Regions from separate parts of the Homo sapiens genome. Here all the other regions are linked to region 3. The links are contacts of gene promoters, found by promoter capture Hi-C in human tissues and cell types (Jung and others, 2019). All regions are on one chromosome and are shown on one strand. The core of a region is centred on a gene start or on the middle of the fragment in contact, and the rest is flanking DNA. Distances in the headings are between cores, read along the strand shown.

The links. The method cuts DNA at HindIII sites, captures the fragments that hold promoters and counts their contacts. A contact is called where the count stands out against the background at its distance.
Region 1: a contact is called between a fragment that was not itself captured here and the fragment with the promoter of ASL in region 3, in 2 of the 25 tissues and cell types used here (adrenal gland and mesenchymal stem cells).
Region 2: a contact is called between a fragment that was not itself captured here and the fragment with the promoter of ASL in region 3, in 1 of the 25 tissues and cell types used here (mesenchymal stem cells).

The regions. Positions count from the first base shown.
Region 1 is chr7:66,278,920-66,282,445 of GRCh38, forward strand. All of the region lies in intron 2 of TPST1 (tyrosylprotein sulfotransferase 1), which reads left to right. Among named protein-coding and RNA genes, the nearest start is that of TPST1, 75 kb to the left of the region's middle. The HindIII fragment of the contact is 5,313 bases long and covers 1-3,526 here.
Region 2 is chr7:66,235,741-66,239,099 of GRCh38, forward strand. All of the region lies in intron 1 of TPST1 (tyrosylprotein sulfotransferase 1), which reads left to right. Among named protein-coding and RNA genes, the nearest start is that of TPST1, 32 kb to the left of the region's middle. The HindIII fragment of the contact is 3,403 bases long and covers 131-3,359 here.
Region 3 is chr7:66,073,883-66,077,294 of GRCh38, forward strand. It overlaps ASL (argininosuccinate lyase), which reads left to right and starts at 1,937. Exons shown (of 17, transcript NM_000048.4): 1 at 1,937-1,974; 2 at 2,157-2,211. The coding sequence starts at 2,200. RefSeq lists a silencer at 1,578-2,107 and an enhancer at 2,208-2,487. The HindIII fragment of the contact is 4,995 bases long and covers 1-2,621 here.

The DNA of each region.
Region 1 (3,526 bases), core at 747-3,246, 210 kb after region 3:
AGAACACATCGCTTTTTTCTTTCCAACTTTTAGGTTCAGGGAGTACATGCACAGGTTTGCTACCGGTAAATTGTCTGTCACGGGGGTTTGGTGTACAGATTGTTTCATCACCCAGGTAATAAGCATAGTACTCTATGGGTAGTTTTTCGATCCTCACCTTCCTCCCACCCTCGACCCTTAAGTAGGCCCAAGCGTCTGTTGTTCCCCTTTGTATCTATGTGTGCTCAGTGCTTAGCTAGCACTTATAAGTGAGAACATGCAGTATTTGGTTTTCTGTTCATGTATTAATTCGCTTAGGATAATGGCCTCCAACTCCATCCATGTTGCTGCAAAGGACACTATTTCATTTTTTTATAGCTGTGTAGTATTCCATGGTGTATATCTACCACATTTTCATCATCCAGTCCACTGTTGTGGGCATTTAGGTTGGTTCCATGTCTTAGCTATTGTGAACAGTGTTGCGATGAACATACAGTTACATGTGTCTTTATAGTAGAACGATTTATATTCCTGTGGGTATATATCCAGTAAGGGGGTTACTGGGTCTAATGGTAGTTCTGAGTTCTTTGAGAAATCTTCGAACTGCTGTCCACAGTGGCTAAACTAATTTACATTCCCACCAGCAGATATAAGCATACTCTTTTCTTTGTTTTGTTTTGTTTTAAAACTAAAGCTTATTCTGGCCAATTTACTCTACTATTTTCTAATAACAGCTCATAGATCAGAAACGGTCTTTGTTTTAAACTTTCCTATCCATATGAAACACAATGATGTTGGGGTAAGAGGGGCCTTTTCTCTAAATGAAAATACAATACTTATTCTGTATAATTCTAGAGGGCCCAGAGATGTGGAAATAATGTATTTGTAAGAATTATATTAAACAATCTTTATTTGATAAATAGTACCTTACAATCCTAATGCTATCTATCAAGCTTCAGTAAGAGCAATTTCAGCATCAAGTAATGAACAGTAGCTAAACTGACAAGAGATCAATCAAAAGGGCTTTAAATGGAGCAGCACCAGCTGATGTGCTGCTAAGGCTCTGGGCATTCAGGACTCTCCTATGGGGAAAACGGAATCAAACCAGCAGGTGCTCTGGACCTAAGCCTTCACATCGTGACCTGCCTCCCTCCTGGGGGTGTGGTGGCCCACAGTCCCCCTGGCATTTCTCGGCCCTTGTGGGCTGCAGACGGAAATCCTGGCACCAAAGGACAGCTTGGGAAAGGCTGAAACTTGACCTCACAGTCAGCTGGCTTCTGCCTATTGTGGTCATTTTCTTTCCAGAGCACCTAGAGCACTCGCACAGTGGACGTGGAAGCCACCCAGCATTCTTGGGCTGTTTTCTCATAGAAGAGGACCTTCCTCTAAGCATTGGAAGCGTCTTTCTCCAATTCCTGGGCCAGATCTTGGGCCATCTTCTTGTAGGTCATGGGTCTGACACACATGGTTCAAGTTTTCGTGGCTATTGTGAATGGGATTGTGTTTTTGATTTAGCTCTCAGCTCGGATATTGTTGGTGTATGGAAATGCTATTTTTGTACAATGATTTTGTATCCTGAAACTTTACTGAAGTTGTTTATCAGATCTAGAAGCTTTTGGGCAGAGACTGTGGGGTTTTCTAGGTATAAAGTCATATCGTCTGCAAATATGGAAGATAGTTGACTTCCACTCTTCCTGGATGCCTTTATTTTTCTTACTACTCTATCTAGGACTTCCAGTACTGTGTTGAGTAGGAGTGGTGAGAGAGGGCATCCTGGTCTTATTCTGGTTCTCAATGGGAATACTTCCAGTATGGTATGCTTCCAGCAGCACATCAACTGGTGCTGCTCCCTTTAAAGCACTTTTGATTGATTTCTTGTTAGTTTAGCTATTGTTCATTACTTGATGCTGAAATTGCTCTTATTGAAGTTTGATAGATAGCATTAGAATTGTAAGGTACTATTTATCAAATAAAGATTGTTTAATATAATTCTTACAAATACATAATTTCCACATCTGTGGGCCCTCCAGAACATTTCAGCATGTTCTGGATGTTGGCTGTGGGTTTGTCATAGATATCACTTATTGTTTTGAGGTATGTTCCTTCGATGCCTAGCTTGTTGAGAGTTTTTAACATGAAGGGATGCTGAATTTTATTGAAAGCATTTTCTGTGTCTATCGAGATGATCATGTAGTTTTTGTCTTTAGTTCTGTTTATGTGATGAATCACATTTATTGGTTTGTGTATGTTGAACCCACCTTGCATCCCAGGGATAAAGCCTACTTGATTGTGGTGGATTAGCTTTTGATGTGCTTCTAGTCTCTGTTTCCTAGTATTTTTGTTGAGGATTTTTGCATCTGTGTTCATCAGGGATATTGGCCTGAAGTTTTCTTTTTTTGTTGTATCTCTGATAGGTTTTGGTGTCAGAATGATGCTGACCTCATAGAATAAGTTGGCAAGGAGTCCCTCTTCCTGAATTTTTGGGAATAGTTTCAGTAGGTTTGGTACAAGGTCTTCTTTATACATCTGATAGAGTTTGGTTATGAATCCCTCCTGTCTAGGGCTTTTTCTGGTTGGTAGGTTTTTTAGTACTAATTCAATTTAGGAACTCATTATTGGTCTGTAGAACACATTTTCACAAAGTTGAATTTCTATTGTATATACATTTTAAAATCTTCTTTCACAAGACATGACCTGAGCATTTTCTAATAGTGAAAGTCTTTGAAAACATGGTTTTTAATGGTATTTCATTACATGTTTTACTGTAATAAACCTAACCACTTGGATTATGTACTCTTTCACTCATTCCTTTTTGCATATCTGTTCCATCCCCTATGCTTTAATATGGAGGATTTGGTTTCTTGTAGTAGTTGCTGGGTATCATAATTCAGACCTGTGGTTTGGCAGTCAGCCTGGCTGTAGTGTTTAACTGAGTCTCGTGGAAGATCCATGCTTAAAATGAATGTCGTGGAGAATTGTATTCACCTCAGTCATTCAAGACTTTGGCATAGACCCCATTCCTTGAGGAGGAGTTGCCGCCACTGTGACTGCCACAGACGGAAGGAAGCCTGGGCAGTTGGGACTGGGGAGAACTTGCTGAGTCACAGATATCTTGTCTCAGTGTGCATGGGCCGTGTGTATTGAAATGTACCAGTCTGTGAGGCACTATGTTTTGAGGTCTCAGTAAGCTAAAGGGGTGTAGAATGGTATCTAGTTCATACCGTAGTATGCTTTAGATCTAAGTGTTGGTTAATTCTGTAAGGACTGAAGGAATAGGGGAGATTTAATGAGCTCCTTGCAGTCTGCAGGTTATTATCGAGAAAAGAAAATTAGGCTCTCAGTTCCAGGCCCATTTCCCTCTAATCACTGTGTCCTTTTGAACAAAAGTTGGCAAACTTTTTCTGTAAAGGGCCAGATATTTTTAGCTTTGCAGGCCATATGATTTCTGTTGTAAGCATTGAGCTCTTCTGTTATAGAGCAAAAGCAGCCATAGGCAGTACAGGAACAAATGGCCATGGTTATGTTCTAGTAAAACTTTATTTACATA
Region 2 (3,359 bases), core at 582-3,081, 160 kb after region 3:
CAGCTTGGTTTTATACATTTTAGGGAGACATGAGACATCAATCAATATATGTAAGAAGTACATTGGTTCCGTTTGGAAAGGTGGGACAGCTCGAAGCAAAGGCAGGAAGACTTGAAGCGGGGAAGGGGCTTCCAGGTCACTGATAGGTGAGAGACGCACAGTTGCATTCTTTTGAGTTTCTGATTAGCCTTTCCAAAGGAGGCAATCATATATGCATCTATCTGTCTGACTGAGACTGATACCTGTCTCAGACTTTGGAGGTTCACATACTATATATATAAATTACACTTCAATACAGCTTTTTTTTAAAAAAAGGAATTCATTACTAGAAAAATACTTTGACAGACAGTGAGCAGAGGGATGACTTTGAATAGAATGGGAGGCAGGTTTGCCATAAGCAGTTCCCAGCTTGACTTTTCCCTTTAGCTTAGTGATTTGGGGGCCCCAAGATTTATTTTCCTTTCACAAGTATGAGGGTGTAATTCAATAATTTTTTAGTAGATTTTATAGGGTTGTACAACTATGACAACAGTTCAGTTTTAGAACAGTTCAGTCACCGCAAAAAGTTCCTTCATGTAAGCTTGCACTTAAATCCCTGCTTTTTCACTCTGTCTCTATAAATTTGCCTTGTCATTTAAATGTGTGCTTATGTTGCTCTCATATATATATGTATATACACACACACACTTTTAGGATTGTTTATATCTAAACAACTTTAATGAAGTATATATAGTGTAAGGTATATGTACTTTATTTAAGTATATATACTTAATGTATATATACTGCCTTTGCTTTGAGCTGTCCCACCTTTCCAAACGGAACCAATGTACTTCTTACATATATTGATTGATGTCTCATGTCTCCCTAAAATGTATAAAACCAAGCTGTATCTCAACCACCTTGGGCACAGGTCATCAGGACTTCCTGAGGCTGTTTCACAGGCGTGTTCCCCAACCTTGGCAAAATAGACTTTCTAAATTAACTGATACCTGTCTTAGGTTTTGGAAGTTCACATACTATATATAAATTACACTTCAATAAAGCTTTTTTAAAAACAAGTGTGCACACACTTTATAATTGTTTTCATTTTTAAGCATGGCTTTCTAGGAGTTGCCTTCCTGTCTGCATAGCTTAGTGATCAGTGGTCACCCAGTGCTTGGACAGTGGTTGCCTCAGACATCTTGAGCCAGTAAGGCATTTGTCCTCTGCCAGTAGATCTCTGTGGGTAGGGAGCACATACAAAGTTTAGGCTTTTTCAGATCTGCTGTCTTTTACTTTCCACCCAGTCCTTTCATGTCTCCTCTGTGCCTGCATGCCACTTCTGGGTTGGCCAACAAATGTGCCCCACCCAGACTGCAACCTCCACCTTCTAGAGCTGTTCACCCTCTCACTCGCCTCCCACCTGCTCCATCACTTACTCTGACAGTGCAGGTGGTCATGTGCGTTCTTCCCCACTCCAAACTCAGTGAACTGTCAGTCCTAATGGTTTGCCTTGCCCTGCTCTGCCTTGCAGAACCTCTGTACCTACTGAATGAGTAGATGAGGTGGGAGTAACCTTACACAGACCCTCATTGTTCTTACCCACCTTTTAGCAGTTTTTCAAGCATAAATGCTTCTCAGGTTGTTGTATTCTTCTGGTGGATTTCCAGAGCACTGAAAGGGTTGTTTTGCCCATTTCACCCAGCTTTATCATTGGTTTTTGGGGAGAGGAATTAACTACCTTCTCACTAGGCTGTAGCTGGAAGTCTTCCCTCTCAGAATGTATTTTTTAGTGTAGTTAGTCATTTCCCCAGGTATATTTACTGTATCCTTAGGGTTCTCCAGAAAAACAAAACCAAACCCCTGTGTTAGGGTTTTACAGAAAAACAACCAGTAGTCAGGGTAAGGCAAACCATTAGGACTGGCTGCTTTGCTAGTGGGTTGGAAGGGATCTCACTGAATTTAGAGTGGTGGGTAACGCGCATGCCCACTCTGTATATGGGGAGGGGTCGGGGGTAGGGAGAGAAAGAGACTGATTTTAAGGAATTCACTTATGCGATTGTGGGGCTTTCAAGTCTGAAATTCACAGGGCAGTTGGGCAGAGATGAGTTGATGTTGCAGTCTTGTTCCCGGACCAAACTGAGGGTCGGGTTGCTGTTTCTTGTGGCCCAATAACGAGATGCAGATGAACTGGGGAGGAAGAGAGTTTTTATTTCTGTAACTGTTACAGGGAGGCCTGGAAATTATCACCAGACCGACTTAAAATTACAAAGTTTTTCTGAGCTTATGTACCTTCTAACCTATATGTCTGCATGTAAGTGTGCATTCATCTGAAGATGTAAGTGATTAACTTCTTTTAATCTGTAACTAAAGTCTGAGTCCTGAAGCCCTTCTTCTGGAGCCTCAGTAAGTTTACTTCATCTAAGTGGGTCTAGGTTCTGGGGTGATTACCCTTATCTTATCTCCTGCTAAATCACGGAGATTTGGAGAGTTCCTTCAGACCTCCAATAAACTTGTTTGTGGAGGCCTGGGGAGTTTCTTCAGACCCCTAATAAAACTTGTTTAATCCTAAATGGGTCCTGTTAAGAATTCCTTCGTTATTTTGTCATGCTTTAAGGCCCAGGAAAGGCCTGGGCAAAACTCTTGGTGCGCTTTTGTTACATTCCAGCCTTTGTATAACAGCACTGGCTTTTTTTTTTTTTTTTTTAGCTTTTAATATTTAACTTAACCACTCAGTCAGTACTGAAACAGTTGTTATGGAGGCCTGCGTTAGTGAGACCTGGCCTGCCACAGTCTTAACTCCAGATTCTGCTCGGTAGCAGGCTGGACACACAGGCAGGGTTTCTATGTTGTAGTTCTTTTCCAGGAAACCTCAGTCTTTGCTCTTAAAGCCTTTACCTGTTAGATGAGGCCTTCCTGTATTATGGAGGGTAATCCACTTTACTAGAAATCTGTTGATTTAAGTGTTAATCACATCTAAAATATACCTTCACAGACATATCTAGATTGGTGTTTGATCAAACAACTGGACACCAAAGTCTAGCCAAGTTGACACATAAAATTAACTGTCACACTTGCCTTCTGAGGATTCAGGGTAAATTATTTTGGTGTACATGTAGTCTGGTTGCTGTCTGTTTCCCACTGTATACCCTTGCTCTAGCTAAACTAGCAGCTCCAGCTGTTTCATATACATGCTTCTGCTTTTGCACATCCATGTCTTTGGTCATAGTGTACCTGCAGCATGGAGTGCTTCCTGTGTCCAGATCTTACCTGTCCTTCTGAGGATTAGATCACAGATACTTATACATACAATTTTGTTTGCAGCCTATACACTAGCTTTCCTAAACTTCTTCCTGTCACCTAATTATGCTGTGTTCTGT
Region 3 (3,412 bases), core at 687-3,186:
ATTTTAAAATCGATCGGGGTTTCCTATGACCTATAGGACCAAGAACAAACTCCCTCTCTTGACATTGAAGACTCTTCACAGCCTTCTCCCAAACTCCTTCCACCTCTCCTCCCTACCTTTTGTTATAGTTACAGCCACTTGGATGATTTCCTGTTCTTAAAGCAGGCCAGTCACATTTTTTGTCCAGACTTCTCCCTCTGCCTGGAATGTTCTCCCCTTCTTCCCTGGGCAAATTCCCCCCATCTTCCAAGACCCAATGCAGAAGACAGGTTCATTAGAAGCCCCTTCAGGGTACTTCCAGTGCCTAGAATCCAGCCTGACATTTTGGTTGAATAATTAATTAATCAGATCAAGGACCTCTTCCCTGAGTACCCAACATAGCCCCCCTCCCCAACGCCTGTGCTCCCTGCACACCTCCTCCATGCTATGTTGGAACTTCTTGAAGTCAGGCTTCATTTCTTTTGTTTCGTTTCTTTCTTTGTTTTCTCTTCTCTTTTTCTTTTTCTTTCTTTCTTTCTTTTTTTTTTTTTTTTTTCGAGACAAGAGTCTCACTGTCGCCCAGGCTGCAGTGCAGTGGTGCCGTCTCAGCTCACTGCAGCCTCCACCTCCCTGGTTCAAGTGATTCTCCTGCCTCAGCTGTCGGAGTAGCTGGGACTACAGGCACCCACCACCACACCCGGCTAATAGAGACAAGGTTTCACCATGTCAGCCAGGCTCATCTCGAATTCCTGACCTCAGGTGATCCGCCCGCCTCAGCCTCTCAAAGTGCTGGGATTAAAGGCGTAAGCCACTGTGCCCGGCTGCGTTTCTTTTTTCTTTTCTTTTCTTTCTTTCTTTCTTTCTTTCTTTTTTTTTTTTTTTTTTTTTTTGAGACAGAATCTTGCTCTGTCACCCAGGCTGGAGTGCAATGGCACCATCTCAGCTCACTGCAATCTCCGCCTCCCGGGTTCAAGAGATTCTCCTGCCTCAGCCTCCGGAGTCGCTGGGATTGCAGGCACCCGCCACCGTGCCCGGCTAATTTTTGTATTCTTAGTAGAGACGGGGTTTCACCACCTTGGCCAGGCTGGTCTCAAACTCCTGACCTCGTGATCCACCCGCCTCGGCCTTCCAAAGTGCTGGGATTACAGGCGTGAGCCACCGCGCCCGGCCTCCGGCCGCGTTTCTTTTCTTTTTTAGAGGAGTCAGGCTGGAGTGCCGTGGCACAATAGCTCACTGCAGCTTCGAACTCCTGGGCTCAAGTGCTCCTCCCGCCTCAGCCTCCTGAGTAGCTAGGACTGCAGGCGTGCACCACCACGCCCGGCTTTTTTTTTATTATTATTAATTTTTTTGTAGAGACGGGATCTTGTTGTATTGCCCAGGCTGGTCTCCAACTCGTAGCCTCAAGCGATCCTCCCACCTCGGCCTCCCAAAGTGCTGGGATTACAGCTGTGAGCCACCGCGCCTGGCACAGGCTTCATTTCTGATGGTCCTTCCTTTTTCCTTGATGCCTTTCTCTGTACCTGGCACATAGAGGTGCCTGGTACGTGTTTGTTGAATGAATGAATGAATGAGTGAATGAGCGAACATGCCATTTCACCTTATATATCTTGTGAACCTGCCAGGCCCGGGCCTGATGTCATAGCCTCTACCCCTGGCCCGAGTCTCCAGTCCCCTGCGTGTCTGCTGACCACAGCACGAACGCCAGCGCACTACCCTCCTCAACCCCAGCCCAGGCCCCTTCCCCGTCGGGGTCCCCCCAACCCTTTCCCCGCCCGCTTCCCCGCCCCGGGGCCGCTTAGCCTCCAGCTCAGCGGGAGGTATCCCCGCCCACGGCCAGGATTGGAGGATGGAGGCAACGCCCACCCCGCCGGGCGGCCTCCTATTGGCGCGGCCGTCGCCAGGGGTGGGGACAGGACCGGCGGCTGCTGACGCCATCCCGGCCAGAAAAGCCCTGGCCAGTGGCGGGCGCGACACTATCCGTGCGGCCAGGCGGAGGTGAGTGCGCGGCGGCCGGATGGGCGGGACGGGCGTGGAGGACGCCGAGCACCGTGGCGCGCGCTCACGTCCGCGTCCCCAAGGGCTGCGCTCCCTCAAGCGCAGTGCCCAGAACTCGGAGCCAGCCCGGCCCGGGGGACCCTGCTGGCCAAGGAGGTCGTCAGTCCGGTCTTGTCTTCCAGACCCGGAGGACCGAAGCTTCCGGACGACGAGGAACCGCCCAACATGGCCTCGGAGGTGAGTGGGACCTCGGGGACTCCGGTCCTCCTAGCCTCCAAAGGAGAGAGTGGGGGCGCCAGACCTGCCTCGGGCCACCCTGCTGGGAATCGCCCTCCAGGAAGCAATTTTGAAAATTACCTAGGAAGCCTGCACCCCCAGCCCTCCCGGGCGCATCATCTGGAGCCCAGCAGTCACCTTTACCAGGACTCACCAGTATCCGCAGGCAGCCCTTGTGGCAAACCCACCAACCCACACTACTAGGGGTAGAGTGGCTCTGCCCTCACCTCACAGTGATGCCTGCCTGGCCAGGAAAAGTGGCTCCCAAGCCTTCAGCCTTCCAACTCTTCCTTCCTTCTTACCACGTGTCCTCCTGTCAGGTCCCACCCCACACCACATCCCTTCTCCTGCTAGAGCAATTGTCCCTGTTTATAGAATAAAGCTCAGCCCCTAAGTGTTCTTGTCCTTGACTGTGGCATGTGGAAAGAGCCAGGAAAAAGGGGACGTCGCCTCGTGGCTCCAGCAACCCTGGTGCCTGGTCCCTTCCTGTCTCACTGGACCCTGCCTCTTAGGGTCAGTGGCTCCTGGCCTCTCCTCCTGACCACTGAGATGCTGGATTCCCAGGCAGAGGTTTTCCTTCCTTGGGCCATAGTTGATTTATCTGGCAATGGGGGTAATAATAGCTGTCGGCCTCACTCTGTAAGGCACTAGATTATGAGGCCATTGCTTTGGACCCTTCAGGTGAGAGGGGCTGTTCGCCTGATGCTTGATGAAGGGAACTCCGGGAAGCAGGAGGTCTGGGTTCCAGGCCCTTTTGGCCTTCATTAGCTAGCAATTCACTTCCTCTTTCTCAATGCCCTGCAAGCTCAGTGCCCTGCAAGCTTCTGGGTCATGGCAGGGGGGTAGGGCCTGGACTTTGGAGCCAAACAGACTTGGTTTCTGTACCAGTCACTTGAGCCCTTTAAACCTCTTTCCTCATTTGTGAAATAGGGGTAATATTGCCCACCTCATAAAAGGCCGTAATAACATATGTGAAATCCCTAGCACAGGGCTGAGCAACAGTAGGTGCTCAATAAATGGTGGCTAACCACAACAATACTGATATTTCTACTTTGGGAGGCCGAGGCGGGAGGACTGCTGAAGCCCAGGAATTCCAGACCAGCCAGGGCAATGTAATGAGACCCTGTCTCTACAAAAAGATTTTGAAAATTACCCAGGTGTG